7 separate regions of the Homo sapiens genome follow, and all the other regions are linked to region 1. Evidence: promoter capture Hi-C in 16 types of primary human blood cells and fetal thymus (Javierre and others, 2016). All regions are on one chromosome and are shown on one strand. Each heading gives the region's core, a stretch centred on a gene start or on the middle of the fragment in contact. The rest is flanking DNA. Distances are from core to core; before and after follow the strand shown. Region 1 holds the start of NEUROG2 (neurogenin 2). Region 2 has its middle 7.0 kb from the start of LINC02945. Region 3 overlaps LINC02945 (long intergenic non-protein coding RNA 2945). Region 4 overlaps LINC02945 (long intergenic non-protein coding RNA 2945). Region 5 overlaps AP1AR (adaptor related protein complex 1 associated regulatory protein). Region 6 overlaps LINC02945 (long intergenic non-protein coding RNA 2945). Region 7 overlaps FAM241A (family with sequence similarity 241 member A).

Region 1 (2,700 bases), core at 39-2,538:
AGCTCTTTTTTCTCATTGAAAAGCAGAATTGGGAAGATGGGCCCCTTGTCCCTACAACGCCCCCCAGCGCGGAGCAGAGGTCACAGAAATGTCAGCGCAGCGCATTTGCTTGCAGGAGCAGCAGCTCTGCCGCTCCTCCCGCTCGGTTCGCTGCCACCCACGCAGGAAGCCTCCTTGCTGTCCCTCCAGGCTATAAACTGGGTTAACCCCAGCAAAACCTGCATCAGTGCCCGGAGCCTCAGTTTCCTGTATGTAAAATGAGGGGGATCCTTTCAGCTCTAACATGTGAGTGATTTCATTCTCACATCCTCTAAAAGCTCATCAACTGCTCCCCTATCCGACCTCCCCTCCCAAGAGACGCCTGTTTGAATCCCCAGTGTCCTCTCCCTTCACTCTCCCACGCCAGTTTCGACGGACCCCAAACACACTTGTTCACGAGGTGTCCACATCTCTCCATCCACGCCATTCTCCTCCCCTAACCAAATGAATCCATTTTAAAATCGTTTACTATTTGATACAACCCCTAAGAGGCTTTGCCAAGAGACGCCCGGCAGCACCACAGGGCTAACTGCTTTCCCCGGGATTCTGACCCCCATTAACTAATTCCTAGTTCCCATCACCCGGGAGTTAGGAGGGCCGGCAGCGCCGGGTGCGGTGCCTGCGCGCGCGCCGGGCGGGGGGAGCCTCGGCGGCAGCGAGGACGAAGGCGGGGGCGGTAGCACGGGTCCCCCCATCCGCCCCCAGCGCTCGGGCCCCTAATGAGCTGCTGAAAGGGAGCGGGCTCCGGTGCGCGTGGCTCGCAGGCCTCCCGGAGTCCAGGGCGCCCTGATTGGCCAGCTGCGCCTCGCGACCTCCATTCATTAATAAATTAGCGGCACGCTCCAGCCGAGCGCGAGCCACCAATCACAATGGACAGCGGCGGCGACAACAGCCGCAGCTTGAGCCTCTGCGGCCGCTGCGGCTTCGCCAGCTCCGGCCGCAGCCCGGAGCTCCAACAGGAGCTTTAGAACCATTTTATGTTGATTAGATAAAGGGGGAAAAGAGAGGCGGGGGTGGTGGGAGGAGGAGGATGGATGGCAGGGCCAAGGGAGGGGGAAAGGCGGTGAAGAAAGAGGAAGAAATGAATGATGATAATGCAATGAAAAGAATAAGCCAGAGGAGGGAAAAGCGGGGGAGAAGGGGGGCAGGACTGACAGGAGGAGGAGGCGGTGGCGGGGGAGGAGGGGGCCCGGGGCAGATCTGATTGTTTTCTTGGTGGTATATAAGGGGTTTTAAGGAGAGTCGTGTGCCAGACACGCAGCCACTGAACCACAAGCAGCTTCGCGTTAACTGGAGTGCCTGGGAGTCGCGTGCCAGGAGCCGCACGGCCAGGGACTGACTGACAGACAGACACGCACCACCACCACAACACACGAGACCCGGGCGGGCCGCCGCCGCCGCCGCCGGGGCTCTTGGCAAACTCGCCGGTCGCAGAGGTCCCCCGCGGAGCTGCGCCACAGTAGCGCCGGGCTTGCAGCTTTCACGCCGGGCGAAGGACCCGGCGCTGCGCTCGCAGCTGCGCGGAGATTCCCGGCACAGGCCAAAGTCACAGCAACGCTGAGGCACAGTTAGAGCCAACTAAGTAAGTATTCGAGCCACCGCTTCCAACTACGCAGGTGGTTTCCCCGCACTCAGTCCAACCACACCCGCACGCCCTCTGCTCCGCGCAGAATCTTTGTCGCGGAGGCCGCAGTCCCTTCTCGGGGAGGGAACGCAGGACCGCCCGCGGAGGGCAGGACCCGGCTGACTGGCAGCAGGGTCACAGCGAGCGCTAGCGGCGCTCCTGACCTTGGTTAGCACTGCCTGGGTTTCTTCCTTCGCCTTCCTGCTCCGCGCCATTCGGAGCTGGTCTTCTCGGGTGCGCGCCGGAGCACGCCCCTGTGACACGAAGATCGCGCCTCTGTTTCTTTCCTTACACCTCACTGCCTTTTTCCCCTTTCTCTCTTCGGTAGGATGTTCGTCAAATCCGAGACCTTGGAGTTGAAGGAGGAAGAGGACGTGTTAGTGCTGCTCGGATCGGCCTCCCCCGCCTTGGCGGCCCTGACCCCGCTGTCATCCAGCGCCGACGAAGAAGAGGAGGAGGAGCCGGGCGCGTCAGGCGGGGCGCGTCGGCAGCGCGGGGCTGAGGCCGGGCAGGGGGCGCGGGGCGGCGTGGCTGCGGGTGCGGAGGGCTGCCGGCCCGCACGGCTGCTGGGTCTGGTACACGATTGCAAACGGCGCCCTTCCCGGGCGCGGGCCGTCTCCCGAGGCGCCAAGACGGCCGAGACGGTGCAGCGCATCAAGAAGACCCGTAGACTGAAGGCCAACAACCGCGAGCGAAACCGCATGCACAACCTCAACGCGGCACTGGACGCGCTGCGCGAGGTGCTCCCCACGTTCCCCGAGGACGCCAAGCTCACCAAGATCGAGACCCTGCGCTTCGCCCACAACTACATCTGGGCACTCACCGAGACCCTGCGCCTGGCGGATCACTGCGGGGGCGGCGGCGGGGGCCTGCCGGGGGCGCTCTTCTCCGAGGCAGTGTTGCTGAGCCCGGGAGGAGCCAGCGCCGCCCTGAGCAGCAGCGGAGACAGCCCCTCGCCCGCCTCCACGTGGAGTTGCACCAACAGCCCCGCGCCGTCCTCCTCCGTGTCCTCCAATTCCACCTCCCCCTACAGCTGC
Region 2 (2,700 bases), core at 127-2,626, 400 kb after region 1:
ACAGAGCAAGACTCCATCACCTCACCCCACCTGCCAAAAAAAAAAAAAAAAAAAACAAAACAAAAAGAAAGAAGATGCGTGAACAGTTGAAGGCCAAGAGCACAAAATTACAAAGTTTTGACACTGTCAAATGACAGAAGAGTTAACAACAACCAAAAAAACAAGGGTAGAAAGATTATTGAACCCAATAGAATGCTTTTGTTGCAGTATAAAATGGAATTTAAACTGGCTAAACAAAAGAGATTTATTTGTTTGCGAATTAAATAGTGAAGATGTAGAACCATCTTCAAGAGTGGCCTCATCAATCTTTCTCTGGGATTCTGTGGGCCTTGCCATCCCCCATGTGTTATGTTTATCCTCAGGCTAGGCCAGGGGGTCATTTCCTGGGGAAGAGAACATGTAGTTCCTGAAGGGTTGATTGAAAGGCTTGTGGTTTGCCTTGATTAGCTTACTTCTGGACCAATCACTGTAGCTAGGGGGAGTGACTTGCACTGTAGAAGGAGATAGTATAATTGTTTTTTAATGCCTTATGATATGTTTGGCTGTGTCCCCACCCAAATCTCATCTTGAATTGCAACTCCCACAATTCCCACATGTCACAGGAGGAACCCGGTGGGAGGTGATTGAATTATGGGGGCAGGTCTTTCCTGCACTGTTCTCATGGTAGTGAATGAGTCTCACAAGGTCTGATGGTTTTAAAAATGGGAGTTTCCTTACACAAGCTCTCTTTTTTGCCTGCCGCCATCCATGTAAGACGTGACTTGCTCCTCCTTGCCTTCTGCTATGATTGTGAGGCTTCCCCAGCCATGTGGAACTGTATGTCCATTACATGTCTTTTTTGTAAATTGCCCAGTCTCAGGTATGTCTTTATCAGCAGCATAAAAATGGACTAATACACCTCCCAAAACCCATGGCTGCTAAATAGTGGGGGAAGAGTGAGTCATCACTTGAGTAGACTGCAACTCCAGGCCTACATAATCTTAATGCCTACTGATCTCTTGTTTCTTCCAGAAAAAGCTCCAGGGAGGGCTTTGGAGGGATTGGTCCATGTGCTCTTTCTTGAACCAATATTAGGTTTAAGGGGGATAGGCCAGACTTGTGTGTTAGCTGCCGGAGGTGAATGGGAACGGTCAGCACCACACAAACAACATGGAACGAACTCCTTATAGTCACCACAGTCCCTTCAGTGGGTTTCCTGGATTAGTGATAGTGATACCACAGTTATAAAATAGTTTCCATTTTCTGCTCCAGAGAATGATTTTATTTTCATTTTCATTCTTTGTAGAGCTTCTTATTTATGTGTTTTTATAATCTGTTGACTTGGTTTTTTAAAAACTAATTTTCCTTTCATTTTCATGTAAAGGATCAGTGATATCTTTCTTGGTAATCTGCAAATTCCTCCAAAGCAGGTGTCCTCTTCTTTTCTCTCTTCTCTCTTCTCTCTTTCCTCCTCTCCTCTCCTCTCCTCTCCCCTCCCCTCCCCTCCCCTCTCTTCTCTCCCCTCCCCTCTCCTCCCCTCTCCTCCCCTCCTCTCCTCTACCCTCCCCTCCCCTCTCCCCTCTCCTCTCCCCTCTCCTCCCCTCTTCCCTCCCCTCTCCTCTCCCGTCCCCTCCCCTCCTCTCCTGTTTCCTTCTCCCTTCCCTTCCCTTTCCTCTTCCCTTCCCTTCCCTTTCCTTTTCCCTTCCCCCTTCCCCCATCCCTTCCCTTCCTTCTTCTTTTGTTTATCTTTAAGACTTTTACTACCACTTCAATCATGGATTTTTAGTAGTATGCTAGAGCTGGTTCTTTCTGGCTCTCTAGGGTCAAGAGCTAAATGTTCAGAAACTTTTTGAGTTGGTTGTTAAACCATTAGTGCCTTAAAATTGTCCCTGGGGGAGTATTTATACCATGGAAATTGAAAATGCTACAAATCAGGACTCTTCTTCCTCAGCCAGTTAGCTGTAAACCACTAATCTCATGTCAAAATATATTATAATAAAAGGCTTTTCCTGTGTTATAATTCATCCTCTAGGAAGTAAATTGTAATTCCAGTTTCCAAATTCTGTCTGTATTGTGTTTAAAGATTTAAAAGAATAAAATTATTAGGAGATTAAGTATAATTTTTCACATAATATTGAGCCCATTATATTTTTTTCTGATTTCAAAACCTGAGAGTCTTAAAAAAATAAAAAGACAAGCCACAAATTGGAAGAACATATTTGCAAGTACTATATCTGGTAAACTATTTGCATCCAGACTACATAAGGGATATTTATAACTCAATAACTAGAAGATAAACTATCCAACTAAAAAATAGGGAAAAGAGCTGGGTGTGGTAGCTCATGCCTGTAATCCCAGCACTTTGGGAGGCTAAGGTGGGAGAATTGCTGGGGCCCAGGAGTTTGAGATCAGCCTGGGTAACAGAGCAAGACCTCATGTCTCTTAAAAAAAAAAACAAAAAACAAAACAAAATGAAACAAATATATATGTGTGTGTGTGTGTGTGTGTGTATGTGTATATATATGTGTGTGTATATATATATGTATGTATATATATAGAGAGAGAGGCAAAAGATACGTATAGACTTTTTTTTTGGAACAGAGTCTTACTCTGTTGCCCAGGCTGGAGTGCAGTGGCACAATCTCAGCTCACAGCAACCTCTGCCTCCTGGGTTCAAGCGATTCTCCTGCCTCAGCCTCTGGAGTAGCTGGGACTACAGGC
Region 3 (2,700 bases), core at 63-2,562, 460 kb after region 1:
AGATGGCAATGTCATAATAGTTGATATAAAGAGCTATAATTGATACTATAGTTTAATCAGAAAGAGGTCTTTTAGGAGTTAAGTATGGTATGCTTTCCTTTAAGGACTCTACTTCATAAAAATTCAAATGATTAAGATTCAAAGATTCAAAACACTTAGATAAGTTACATATCACTCATACTTTGAAATGTTTCCCATTAAGAAAAAAATTGATTTTGTGGGACTTGGCCATCTCTTCCAGGTTGCATTCTGTGTTTTCAGAAGCTGCTAGGACTCCTTTCTATTTTTTTTATGAGTAACTTTGTACTAGCAAACTTAAATATTTATCTACACTTTTTTCAAATGGCTAATATTCACTAAAGTGACACTTTAAAACAAAGAAAAATGGAGAATAATTGCTCCTTAGTTTTTGCTGGTCCTAAATAGCAAAAACTTATTATTAAGTATGAGTGGGTGAAAAGCTTAAACCAAACCAAAACAAAACAAAACAAAAAAAGCCTTGACAAAAGCACAAGAAATAAAGAATGAAGAACTGATACCTTCCTTTAGAAGGAACTGTAGCCCTGTAGCACCCAATGCTCTCTAATGCCATCAGCCAATTAGGAGCTGCCCTGAAGCCAAAGCTTGAGAAAATGCAGTGGAATTGGTTTAGTGGTGTTAATGGCCTGAAGGTAGCAAGAATTGCTGCTTAGTTCAAGAAGGTGGAAATTGACTACTCAATTTGGTGTGGTAATTAGGTCCTTAACTGATTTTTCTAAATTTGTCTATTTTTAACTGGAAGCTTTTTGTGCCAGTCTAAAAAATCAAACAAGGTTTAAACGGAATTCTTAAATATGCAAAAAAAATTGTGTTTTCTTCCTCCCCCATTAAAAAAAAAACCTCTCACTAAAATTAATTTAACTTTATATCTCTGCCTTCTTTGGAAATGCTTTTTCCCCAATGTTTCTGTATTTAATTCTTTCATAGCATGCAGTTTATCATTAACTTTGCTTCTAAAAAGTCACTTATATTTTTCTTAAGATATTGAGACTTACCAGATCATGAAGATTCATAGAAAGCTGTTTGTCAGCTTTTAAGTCCTGGCTTTAGTTTTAGGAACTCTGTGTTTTTTCCATTTCTCATTAACAGATTGATAAGGCAGGTATCCTATGTTAACTATTTTTAAAACTATGTTTAAAAAATTTTAAAAACATTTTTGTAGTTGTTTGAAATTTGCACAGATCATCTTTTAAAAATTTTAACCACCATAGCATCATCTAGTGGACCAATTACATAGCTGTAGGGATCAAACCTATTAGACGCGATAAACAATATAATTCCTTCTGTCATTTTGGTTATGATAAAGACCTTAAGGTGCTTTCAATACTAGGGTAAAATTAATTTTTGTATTCTACTATCCTACTGAAAAAATAATAAATATTCAATAGTTAATTTTAGGAGTCAATCCAAAGGTTAACCCAATAAATCTGAGGTTATTGTAATAAATAATTCAAACCATGACGAGCCAGTAGAAACAGATGGTGCTTCTGGAAGAACTTGAAAATTTTCCACTCTTAAATGAACATAAACCTTCTGCTTGGAGCTGTGCAACTACATGAACTTCTGTGCAGGCCTGTAAATCTATGAGGTTACTTTTTTTGTGGTCTTGAGTCACATTCTTTTAATTTGATGCTTCTCAAGGTATGGAAAGCAAAGGCTAACTCAAAACACAAGAGAACAAGTTCTGGTTATTCTCACTTTGTATTGCTATCTTTCCTCTTCCTGCAATTGCTTCCTGCTCCTCAGTTTTGCATGTAAGAATGTGTATTCCAGTAAGAGGACAAAAGGCATTTTAGCAAGCTTTTATTATACCTAAGCCTGGATTTAACTCCCTCAATAACTGAATAGGCATATAATCCCATGGATTTCTTAAGGTAGTGAGTTGAGTCTAGGTGAATTACAACATTTTTTTTTTCCTGAGCTTTTTCAAATGATTAGCAACACTTCCGCGGACAATTGTGTTTGAAGGGTTACAACTGGCTTTGATGAATAATCTGAAGCAGAGAGCAAGTAAATATGCAAGAAAAGAAAGAAAATGAAAATGAAAGAAGAGAAAAGAAAATAAAGTGAATGCATGTGATAGCACCCTGTTTTTGACCATATATTTATGCTGATAGGTTGATTTCTTTTGACCAAAAAAGATGTTGATAAAGCTGTAAATTTAAGATGTGGTTGAAGATGAGCTTGTCAAGAGTATTTTGTTTTCAATGAGAGATAAGTCATTGACTCATAAAAATTGTATTAGAAGTAAATACAGGATATGTAGTTGTCATCTAATTTATATTGGTTCGATTTTATTTCTTTCAATTTTTATTGTTAATTTTTTGTAACTGTCCATCTTTTACTTATATATAATTGAACATATCACTTCATAAGGAAATGCAATTACTTACACAAATACCTTGTCTGAATATTTCTGCACTAACAAGTTGCTGACACTAAAAAATACAAGGATTCACCAAATGCTGGCCAGAATGTGGAGAAACTGGATCATTTGTACATTACTAGTGGGAACGTAAAATGTACAGCCACTTTGGAAAACAATTTGGCAGTTTCTTAAAAACACTAAACTTGCAACTACTACACGACCCAGCGATTGTGCTCCTGGGCATTTATCCCAGACAAATAAGATCTTATGTTCCCAAAAAATCTTTCCATGAC
Region 4 (2,700 bases), core at 137-2,636, 490 kb after region 1:
TACCTCCTTGGTCAGCTATGATGATTAAATTAATATTTGCAAAGAGCATGGCACAGTGCTATTTGCTAAATAAAAATTATACATTTGGGTCTTTTCAATAATCCCATGAAGAAAGCAAGAAATATAGAAACAGAAGAGTTTTGCAACTGAAAAGACCTTAGAGTTTATCTGGTTCAAATCTCTTATGTTAAAGATGAAAAAGCACTTGAAGTGTTATTACTTAATAAAGTAATATAACTATTTAGAATCAAAATATAGTTTTCTTAATTTTCAGGCTGATTTTTTTTCTGCCACATCATTCTGATTTCTGAAAATAAATATAAGGAAGATGAATTCTTAAATAATTTTTCAGTTTTAGAACTGATAAATACAATAGAAATATTAGGAATGAGAGTTGTATAGATTATACAAAGGCATATCAATTTTCTCTAGTATCTGCTGCAATATAATTTTTCTACTAGCTGCATATAGAGCAAACCCCAAATACCTTAAATGAGATAGAAGTTTATTTCTCTTCTGTCTTGTTATCTGTGAGAGAAACACAGATAAGAGAGTCTAGGACTTTTATGGGGACTCTATGGTCAACAGAGACCTGGGCTCCTTCTGCTATTGTATTTCGCCATTCTATGAATGGCTTTCATTCTCAAGGTTACCTCTTGGTCCAAAATGGCTGTTGGAAATTCTACCCTCCCATCAGCATTCTGGAATGCAGGTAGGAGGAAGGGAGAAACGACAAACAGGTGTTCTGTTTTGTTTTTCAAATGTGAGTTAGTGTTCTTTCAACAGTCTTCTAGGATGCCCCATGTCACCTTTGACTTTATCTTATCAGCCAGAACTTAGACACATGTCATGCCTAGCTGCAAGGGAGACTGACAAGTGCTTTCAACCAATTAGCAATTAAAATTGTGGGTTTTCCCATTGAGAAAAAAGGAGTAATAGATATGGGGATGGTAACTGATATTGTTTGTCTGTGTCTGCACCCAAATCTCATCTTGAATTGTAGCTCCCATAATTCCCACATGTTGTGGAGGGGACCCGGTGGGAAATAATTGAATCATGGGGGTGGTTTCCCCTATACTGTTCTAGTGAACAAGTCTCAAGAGATCTGATGGTTTTATAAGAGGAAACCCCTTTCGCTTGGTTCTCATTCTTTCTCTTGTTTGCCACCATGTAAGATGTGTCTTTTGCCTTCTACCATGATTGTGAGGCTTCCCCAGCCAGGTGGAACTGTGAGTCCATTAAACCTCTTTTATTTTTATTTTTTTAATAAATTACCCAGTCTCTATCAGCAGAGTGAAAACAGACTAATACAGTAATTAACCATTTCTGCTACCAGTAGGGGTTCATTTTTCCATCTCTTTTCCTCTTCACATTTCTTTTTCTCTTGCCATGAATCCAAAAGAGCAGACTTGGACTAAGACAAACCACACATTCATGCAGGAGAAAAGAAAATTTCTCTTTCTAAAAAGATGTTGCATCCATATATTAGGATATTGCTGCAAGAAACAAGTCAATTCACTCTGGACTAGTAGGAAAAAAGAACTCTATTATAAATTAGAATGATATTTAATTAAAATCAAACAAAAGAATGAAGAAATTCTAAGAAAGATCAGAAATTGAGAACAAGTTGGAAATACAGGCAGTGTTTTCTTTCAATTTCTTGTTATTGTTTCTTTCTGCATATGATTCTTCTTTTTCTTTTAAGATCCGTTTCCTCTGTGCCCAAGGTCAAATTGCCAGTGAGGAACAAATTGAGATTTACACCTAGATCTTCTAACTCACACTATTATATTCATTATATTTTAAAGTTCTCTCCCTCCTCCTTTGACAGATAGCAAGAGGGTCTCTTTTCCTTACCGATTCACTGTCATCTCTTGATTATAGTCACTTCTGATGTATCTGACCACAATAACTGCCTGTTTGGATCACAATCCTCAAATCTGACATTCAGAAATGCTTATGGGTTCCATAATACCGCTTGGCATTGCACACTAAGCAATATTGTTCTTGCTCAAGTTCTTCTCTTCTCAAGCAATGTATCTTCATTGATATCAAATGTTTCCACTGCCACATCACACTGATGACTCCCAAACACACATTTCCATTTTAGACCTCCCTCCTGAATTCACGGTCCTTATTTTTGTATGATTATTGGTCATTTTTCATTTGAGTGTTTCTTAGTATCCATAGTACCTTCAAATTCAACACATCCATGATCTCATCTTGAATTCTCTATTTTAAAGTGTATCAGTCCAAGCATCCAATAATCTTCCTGCCTCTTCACTTCTGCTGTCAGTTAATTACAAAGTCCTTCAGAATCTGTTACCTAAAGCTCTTATTTCTTATGTGTATTGCCTTAATACCCTTGTAATCTTGTTTTTGTACAATCTCAGCTGCCTTCTAAATCTTCTCCCAGTCTTCAGTCTTGTCTATCCTCTGCATTGTCTCAAGAGTAATCTTTTAACTCTATAAACATGATTATGTCACTTCCCTACTTAAATTTCATCAGCATTTTCCATTTACCTGTAGAACAATGGCCAAATGCCTTGCTGGCCATTTAAGGCTATTTATTATCTGATTTCTTCTTACCTAGCCAATCTCATCTTGGCCTTTTAGAACTATCTAAAATTTCCTAAATAAAACAACAAAGTTCACACTTCTGTGATATTGCACATGATTTTCATTTCCCTTCACCTTAAA
Region 5 (2,700 bases), core at 199-2,698, 260 kb after region 1:
ATATTAGAAATACAACTTTCTGAAGTTCCTTGGGTTTCTGTATAACGCTTTAAATCCTGTGTGTGTATATAGTGTATCTTAGATAGTAAAAAAATTCGGAATTGGCTGGGCGCGGTGGCTCACACCTGAAATCCCAGCACTTTGGGAGGCCGAGGCTGGCGGATCACGAGGTCAGGAGATCGAGACCATCCTGGCTAACATGGTGAAACCCCGTCTCTACTAAAAATACAAAAAATTAGCCGGGCGTAGTGGCGGGCGCCTGTAGTCCCAGCTACTTGGGAGGCTGAGGCAGGAGAATGGCGTGACCCGGGAGGCGGAGCTTGCAGTGAGCCGAGATCCCGCCACTGCACTCCAGCCTGGGAGACAGAGCGAGACTCCGTCTCAAGAAAAAAAAAAAATTCGGAATTATTTTCTAATATAAATTAGTAAAAGAAGGAAATAATAAAGAACTAAAAAGTAAAAATAAAAACCAGAAAATAAAAATTCTAAAACAAAAATAATAAAAATTGTAAACGTAATTGTTAGAACTAATGAGACGATTAATGAGAAAAACAAATACAAGTTTTGTACTATTATGGAAATACTTACTTCATCACTTTCTACTAGATTCTCAAACTGAAAGGACAAAAAAGTAAGCGTTAAGAGGAATATTTGTCTTAGGTATACATCTCACAAGAAATTATGTTACTTTTTTCACTTAAAAATAATATACCTTTATATTTGTAAGCTATTTAATTCAAATGCCTCTTTAATACATCATTTCATTTGATATATTTAACAGTCCTACAAAATGGCCAAGACAAGCATATACTATTTTAATTTATGACTTTCTATGAATGAAAATCAAACAGGAGAATTATAGCAATTTTCTACATAAATCAGAACTAAAACTTTCATCTGAATTGAATATTTCATACAAGTAATTTCATTCCATGCTACCAGAATATTCCACTTCACTTGACTACAGAACAAATGTTGTAAGAAGGAAAATTATTCAAGGAATGGGGACTAAAAGATACCAAATAAGAATTTCCCCACGTTTATATTTATCCGTCTATTCATTCATATAGTTATTTACTGAAAATCTACTAAGTGGTAGTTACTATCCCCAAATACAATGTCTTTCTAGAGATAGGAATGTAAACAGTTTGATCATAATGTGCTTAACACTATTATGTCAGTGACCTAATAAAAGTCATTACTATTATATCACTAAAGTGTTTTTATTTTAAATATAAATAACTTGATAAGTAACCACCTGAAATAAAAGGTGTTTTATTGTTAATACTGTTTGGCTTAAAGATTGAGAGAAAACAATGAATTCAAAAGGTTTAGAAAATTAAGGAATCTCTCTGAAAAAAGAATAAAACTGTTAAAGTTATTATCTTTATCTTTTTTTATATTAGTTTGTGATTTTTAAATATCTAATTCCTGCCTTACACATTTCCTTATTAATATAGAAGGCCATAAAGTACAGTGTTCCAGCTTTGAAGCCAGGCAGTTTGGACTAGAATTTAGGTTTTGCCACTTAATAGGTTGTGTAATATAGCCCAATTTCTCCACCTGTCTAAGCCTCTGATTTTTCATCCATGAAACAGGGTGACCACCACCTGTTTACAAGAGAGTTGTGATGACATTCTTAATTTGTATGGTGGAGTGGCTAGTTTATAGTAGGTAAGGAATAAATGGTAGTTTCTATTATTATATTTTACATTCAAAGAAAAAGTGACTCGGTCATTCTGCTGTGGAGTTGCTTAAACTCAACTTCCTGCTTTGTTTCTGGACTCCCCCCTGCTGGGGCAGGCCAACCACCTCTCGTTATACCCTAGTGAGCCACTATTACTGACAGAAGAGTACCTTCTCCCTGACTTATAGGGTGGGGGAAAAAGCTATTAGAAAAACAGAACCATAATCCTCTGCAAACTTCTTCCTACTCATTCCTTCCCTCACTGCTCCAACTCTTTCAATCTTCACTAACATGAATAATATTGAAATATAAACAGTCCATTCTAAATTTGGGTCCAGATCTTTCCCTCTTTACAACAAAAAGCCCCTTCCGCCTTTCTGAAGGCATTTTTAATTCAATCAAATTAAGGACTACTTACCTCTATTGTTAAGTGCTCACCTCTTGAGCATGTTCTAAAATACTTGGATCTGGGAAGGAAAACAGAATAACTTTAAAAAACACAATTAACTCTAAGATTGAATTAATATATAGCATAAAAACATTTATTTCCTCAAGAGCAACTTTAAAATCTCTAACATATAGTTATATTTATAAAAAAAGAACAACAAAATTTACCTAAGACTATAAAAAGTCCAGATTTTTAAACTTCATTATGACTTTGTTTAGTCAATCAATATTTCTTTCTATTGGCACTAACACTTACTAAATCTGTAATAATTAATTTACTATATTTACTACATTGAGTAGAATACATTTTAAAATGTATCTCATTATTTTTACTACATCAAGAAAAGTACCTCGTTAAAAAATACTGATGTGTTAAATAATATATAAAAAGAATATGTTCTCAATTTTGTTAAAAATACACAGAACATTAAGTATCTAAAAGTATATATGTCAATATGCTAAGAGTAGTTATCTTTGGTGGTGGAATCACGTGTCTTTATTCAAGACTTTTGTTATCTTCCCATGCCCTCACAAATAAAAGAGAAAAACAATGCATATACATGTCA
Region 6 (2,700 bases), core at 102-2,601, 420 kb after region 1:
ACACACATGCCTATATGCTTTTAGAAAGCTGTGCAACCTGGAACTAGCATCAGATTTTCTGGTAAAATTTGTACTAAACTACTACTACTTAGACCACAGGTTCTAGATAGCAATGACTTGGTATCCTATATGCCCACATGCATTTATGCAAGAACATGAAGGCAGTCCAAAGATGCAGAGTATCAGGAAGAGAGCTCTGGGATCAACATTCAGGAAGGGACAAGCTATTATCTCAGCACTGCTTTCCCTGAAGGATGACCATAATGAAAGAGGAAGGTAATGCAGGAGTCTACCTCATCAGAGGTAATGTTGAATAAATGCCAATTACTACTCACAGCTCCTAAGAGGACCTAGTGTTGGCTACTATCTCATACCAGTAGAAGCATAACTTGATTTAACGATTTAAAAGGGCAATTTTATTTTATTTTATTTTTTTATTTTTTTATTTTTATTTTAATTTTTTTATTTTTTTAATATACTTTAAGTTTTAGGGTACATGTGCATATTGTGCAGGTTAGTTACATATGTATACATGTGCCATGCTGGTGTGCTGCACCCACTAACTCGTCATCTAGCATTAGGTATATCTCCTAATGCTATCCCTCCCCCCTCCCCCCACCCCACCACAGTCCCCAGAGTGTGATATTCCCCTTCCTGTGTCCATGTGATCTCATTGTTCAATTCCCACCTATGAGTGAGAATATGCTGTGTTTGGTTTTTTGTTCTTGAGATAGTTTACTGAGAATGATGATTTCCAATTTCATCCATGTCCCTACAAAGGACATGAACTCATCATTTTTTATGGCTGCATAGTATTCCATGGTGTATATGTGCCACATTTTCTTAATCCAGTCTATCATTGTTGGACATTTGGGTTGGTTCCAAGTCTTTGCTATTGTGAATAATGCCGCAATAAACATACGTGTGCATGTGTCTTTATAGCAGCATGATTTATAGTCCTTTGGGTATATACCCAGTAATGGGATGGCTGGGTCAAATGGTATTTCTAGTTCTAGATCCCTGAGGAATCGCCACACTGACTTCCACAATGGTTGAACTAGTTTACAGTCCCACCAACAGTGTAAAAGTGTTCCTATTTCTCCACATCCTCTCCAGCACCTGTTGTTTCCTGACTTTTAAATCATCGCCATTGTAACTGGTGTGAGATGGTATCTCATTGTGGTTTTGATTTGCATTTCTCTGATGGCCAGTGATGATGAGCATTTTTTCATGTGTTTTTTTGGCTGCATAAATGTCTTCTTTTGAGAAGTGTCTGCTCATGTCCTTCGCCCACTTTTTGATGGGGTTGTTTGTTTTTTTCTTGTAAATTTGTTTGTGTTCATTGTAGATTCTGGATATTAGCCCTTTGTCAGATGAGTAGGTTGCGAAAATTTTCTCCCATTTTGTAGGTTGCCTGTTCACTCTGATGGTAGTTTCTTTTGCTGTGCAGAAGCTCTTTAGTTTAATTAGATCCCATTTGTCAATTTTGGCTTTTGTTGCCATTGCTTTTGGTGTTTTGGACGTGAAGTCCTTGCCCATGCCTATGTCCTGAATGGTAATGCCTAGGTTTTCTTCTAGGGTTTTTATGGTTTTAGGTCTAACGTTTAAGTCTTTAATCCATCTTGAATTGATTTTTGTATAAGGTGTAAGGAAGGGATCCAGTTTCAGCTTTCTCCATAAGGCTAGCCAGTTTTCCCAGCACCATTTATTCAATAGGGAATCCTTTCCCCATTGCTTGTTTTTCTCAGGTTTGTCAAAGATCAGATAGTTGTAGATATGCGGCGTTATTTCTGAGGGCTCTGTTCTGTTCCATTGATCTATATCTCTGTTTTGGTACCAGTACCATGCTGTTTTGGTTACTGTAGCCTTGTAGTATAGTTTGAAGTCAGGTAGTGTGATGCCTCCAGCTTTGTTCTTTTGGCTTAGGATTGCCTTGGTGATGCGGGCTCTTTTTTGGTTCCATATGAACTTTAAAGTAGTTTTTTCCAATTCTGTGAAGAAAGTCGTTGGTAGCTTTATGGGGATGGCATTGAATCTGTAAATTACCTTGGACAGTATGGCCATTTTCACGATATTGATTCTTCCTACCCATGAGCATGGAATGTTCTTCCATTTGTTTGTATCCTCTTTTATTTCCTTGAGCAGTGGTTTGTAGTTCTCCTTGAAGAGGTCCTTCACATCCCTTGTAAGTTGGATTCCTAGGTATTTTATTCTCTTTGAAGCAATTGTGAATGGGATTTCACTCATGATTTGGCTCTCTGTTTGTCTGTTATTGGTGTATAAGAATGCTTGTGATTTTTGTGCATTGATTTTGTATCCTGAGACTTTGCTGAAGTTGCTTATCAGCTTAAGGAGATTTTGGGCTGAGACAATGGGGTTTTCTAGATATACAATCATGTCTTCTGCAAACAGGGACAATTTGACTTCCTCTTTTCCTAATTGAATACCCTTTATTTCCTTCTCCTGCCTAATTGCCCTGGCCAGAACTTCCAACACTATGTTGAATAGGAGTGGTGAGAGAGGGCATCCCTGTCTTGTGCCAGTTTTCAAAGGGAATGCTTCCAGTTTTTGCCCATTCAGTATGATATTGGCTGTGGGTTTGTCATAGATAGCTCTTATTATTTTGAGATACGTCCCATCAATACCTGATTTATTGAGAGTTTTTAGCATGAAGCGTTGTTGAATTTTGTCAAAGGCTTT
Region 7 (2,700 bases), core at 119-2,618, 330 kb after region 1:
TTTTTAAAAAATTGATTTCTAAATTATTTTTTCCTTCACTGATATATTATGACTGGGTCAATTTTATGTTTCTTGTACTTTGATATGATCCATAACAATATACTACATTTTAAAAAAACCCTTATTCTTGCCTAATATTAAAGCTTTCTTTTCTTTAGGGTAGAACTTGAAGAGTCCTCGATTTAGTATGTAATTCTGCTGATCCCTCATCCCTCTCTATTTCTCCAGTGTTCAGCATGTTGATACTGTTTCTGGCCTTTTTTTCTTCATTTTTTATTAAAGTTCTTAAAAAAATTTTTTTTTTTACTCTTCCCAATTTCTTGTAATCTATGCACTCATTGTACTTTGGGGTTTTTTTTGTTGTTACTGAAGCTTTTTAAGACTTTTTTTTTCAGTATTTTTGTGGTTTTAGTACGAAGAAAGTACCCTAATCTGGATGTGGTAGGTACTGTCTGAAGGTTTAAATTCTTTGTAAAATAAATTAAATCTACAAATGCTTGTGGGTTTTTCAGGGGAAGAAGGAGGTGTTGCAACACTTAAATCAAAACAGAGAGTTAGTAAATCAGGCCAGGCGAGGAGACAGCAATGCTCACATTATCTCAGATCTTGAGATCAGCTGGTGGGATTGAGACTGGAAGCTGAAGACCCAGTAAGGACAGGTCTGGGCAAGCTGTGGCTGTTGCAGCCTGCTTCTTCTTCTTTTTTTTTAATTATAAAAAAATTTAAGCACACACAAAACTAGAGAAAATAGTATAATAAACCTATATACGTATCAACCAGATTCAGTAATTTCTAAAACTTTGCCACCTTACTGAAATACTTCTTAATCTGGGTAATCTGATGAAGAAGAAAAAAGTTTAAAAAAAAATCACTAGGCTAATGCCTAAAAGTAACATATCTTCACAAATGAAGTTCTGTAGAAACATCAAATATATCCAGCAATGAATTGGATAGGGGGTTCAAACAACCCTAAAGGAAGACATTTAAGAATGTGGAAAGGGTGTCAGTTTCCAGGCAGGCAAAAGAAAAAAAAAAAAAGAACGTGGAAAAGGAAAATGATCAATATTCTTCAATCAGTGAGATTATAGTCAATCTCATTACAGTATTTTATGTATCTAGGATATCCTCTCAAATAACACAGTTCTAAAGGATACAAAGACTGGTGTGTTGGTAAATGTTTAACAATGGGCTTTGTTGGGGGTTGGGGGAAGCTCTATTTTACAGCGTTTGCCAATTCTGTTGTGATTTCCAATTTCTGTAGTGTTAGTACTTCCACTGTGGCCAATTTCAAACTATTAACAGCCAGCTCAAAAAGTTCCTGAAAATTTAACAACTTGCTCTTTGACGATTGGTAGGAGCCAGCACCAGCACTTCACTGTAGGAATAAGAGATACTTGAAATAAGTTGAGGTAAAGGCCTGCACGGTTATAGTCGATGAGTTTGATCCCTCCCTTCTTTCCACCAACTGGTGCATTTCTATTTTTTTTTTTTTAAGTTTACAACATTGACAAGCTGAGATAATTAAGTAGAATTAACTTATTACAAATATATTGCAAGTGGGTAAATTGTATTAAGAAAGGACTATATTATGACTTGAGTTATGAGATACAATGAAATGCATGTGGTGTCACAAAACTACTACAAGTAACAACATATTGCTTTTTCTGGATTGTCTCATGCAGCTATCAAAAGGTCATCCGATTCAATTATTTTTAGAAGTTCTTGTTTACAATAAAATTTAAACCATCTGGCTGATTTGTGAGGACGAGGGCTCTCTTGATGCTCCCTAGGTCAGTGAATGGTACCACCATCCATATGCCACATCCAAAGGTCAGAACTCTAAGGCATTCTTGACCCCCTCCCTCTCCCTCTTCCCCATGACCCACATCCAGCTCATCACCATATTCTCTTTGTTTTACCTTCTAAGTATTTCTTTAAAGTGTATATACTATTCCATCTACTGCTATAATCCTAAGAGTCTACTAAGATCTCTTGACTATTCCAATAGTTTCCTAACACTGCTACTGCACAAGTCCATTAGCTCCCCTATAATCTATATACCACAATGTAGCCACAGTGGTTCTTTCCAAGTGCAAATTCAATCATGCCACCTCCATCCTGCTTTTAGGATTAAGGCCAAAATCTTTAACATGATCTATGAGGCCCTGCTTAGTCTGGCTTCTATCTGGGTCTCTGGCCTCATTCTGTCATCAGCCTTCCTGTCTTTATTTCAGCCACAGAGGTCTTTCAGCTCTTGCTCGCCACAGGGATTTGCACGTGCTCTTTTCTCTGCTCAAAAAACTATTTCCTCTCTCCTTTGCTTAGTTAAGGCATCCTCTCCTTTTGGTCTTAGCTTAAGCTTCAACTCAGTCTCACAGCATCAGGTAATGCTCTTTCAATGCATTCTGACTCAATGCCAATGTGTGTCATTATTTGATTAATGTCTACCTGTACTATAAACTTCATGAACTAGGAACAGTATTTATTTTTGCTGGCCACTGATATCCTCTGATATGAATATGTAGCAAACGCTATGTCCTGAAAATAGCAGCATATAGAAACATCTCAATAAATATTTGTTGAATAAACAGGAAGAAATTATCATGTATTTTTCTGGCAGGCATTAGAGAAGTATTTGATAGATTTTCTACTTTGCTCCTTTTTTTTTTTGGCCAAACCAAAGATGGGCACTATTTTCCA

What was found. Contacts are between HindIII fragments. The CHiCAGO score rates a contact against its expected background, and 5 or more counts as called.
Region 2: a fragment that was not itself captured here is called in contact with the fragment with the promoter of NEUROG2 in region 1 in 8 of 17 cell types (neutrophils, monocytes, naive CD8 T cells and 5 more); the score reaches 11.2 in neutrophils.
Region 3: a fragment that was not itself captured here is called in contact with the fragment with the promoter of NEUROG2 in region 1 in 1 of 17 cell types (activated CD4 T cells); the score reaches 6.9 in activated CD4 T cells.
Region 4: a fragment that was not itself captured here is called in contact with the fragment with the promoter of NEUROG2 in region 1 in 1 of 17 cell types (neutrophils); the score reaches 8.6 in neutrophils.
Region 5: a fragment that was not itself captured here is called in contact with the fragment with the promoter of NEUROG2 in region 1 in 5 of 17 cell types (activated CD4 T cells, total B cells, total CD4 T cells and 2 more); the score reaches 7.2 in activated CD4 T cells.
Region 6: a fragment that was not itself captured here is called in contact with the fragment with the promoter of NEUROG2 in region 1 in 6 of 17 cell types (fetal thymus, activated CD4 T cells, total CD4 T cells and 3 more); the score reaches 9.2 in fetal thymus.
Region 7: a contact is called between a fragment that was not itself captured here and the fragment with the promoter of NEUROG2 in region 1, in 4 of 17 cell types (neutrophils, fetal thymus, total B cells and 1 more). The highest score is 7.6, in neutrophils.

Annotation. Positions count from the first base shown.
Region 1 is chr4:112,514,768-112,517,467 of GRCh38, reverse strand. It overlaps NEUROG2 (neurogenin 2), which reads left to right and starts at 1,288. Exons shown (of 2, transcript NM_024019.4): 1 at 1,288-1,621; 2 at 1,992-2,700. The coding sequence starts at 1,993. It overlaps NEUROG2-AS1 (NEUROG2 and ZGRF1 antisense RNA 1), which reads right to left and starts at 2,089. Exons shown (of 4, transcript NR_161159.1): 1 at 1,828-2,089. LOC124900760 (a long non-coding RNA gene) reads right to left here and starts at 663. Exons shown (of 2, transcript XR_007058231.1): 1 at 429-663. RefSeq lists enhancers at 67-186, 287-386, 1-517 and silencers at 527-806, 2,127-2,196, 2,457-2,656. The HindIII fragment of the contact is 11,776 bases long and covers 1-2,700 here.
Region 2 is chr4:112,117,937-112,120,636 of GRCh38, reverse strand. No RefSeq gene overlaps it. Among named protein-coding and RNA genes, the nearest start is that of LINC02945, 7.0 kb to the right of the region's middle. The HindIII fragment of the contact is 8,296 bases long and covers 1-2,700 here.
Region 3 is chr4:112,053,191-112,055,890 of GRCh38, reverse strand. The region is part of intron 1 of LINC02945 (long intergenic non-protein coding RNA 2945); the gene reads left to right. Among named protein-coding and RNA genes, the nearest start is that of LINC02945, 58 kb to the left of the region's middle. The HindIII fragment of the contact is 1,058 bases long and covers 784-1,841 here.
Region 4 is chr4:112,026,561-112,029,260 of GRCh38, reverse strand. The region is part of intron 1 of LINC02945 (long intergenic non-protein coding RNA 2945); the gene reads left to right. Among named protein-coding and RNA genes, the nearest start is that of LINC02945, 84 kb to the left of the region's middle. The HindIII fragment of the contact is 6,342 bases long and covers 1-2,700 here.
Region 5 is chr4:112,252,662-112,255,361 of GRCh38, reverse strand. AP1AR (adaptor related protein complex 1 associated regulatory protein) reads right to left here. Exons shown (of 10, transcript NM_018569.6): 2 at 2,106-2,154; 3 at 589-615. Among named protein-coding and RNA genes, the nearest start is that of AP1AR-DT, 22 kb to the right of the region's middle. The HindIII fragment of the contact is 6,257 bases long and covers 1-2,700 here.
Region 6 is chr4:112,090,261-112,092,960 of GRCh38, reverse strand. The region is part of intron 1 of LINC02945 (long intergenic non-protein coding RNA 2945); the gene reads left to right. Among named protein-coding and RNA genes, the nearest start is that of LINC02945, 21 kb to the left of the region's middle. The HindIII fragment of the contact is 2,975 bases long and covers 1-2,700 here.
Region 7 is chr4:112,181,297-112,183,996 of GRCh38, reverse strand. The region is part of intron 1 of FAM241A (family with sequence similarity 241 member A); the gene reads right to left. Among named protein-coding and RNA genes, the nearest start is that of FAM241A, 37 kb to the right of the region's middle. The HindIII fragment of the contact is 1,987 bases long and covers 375-2,361 here.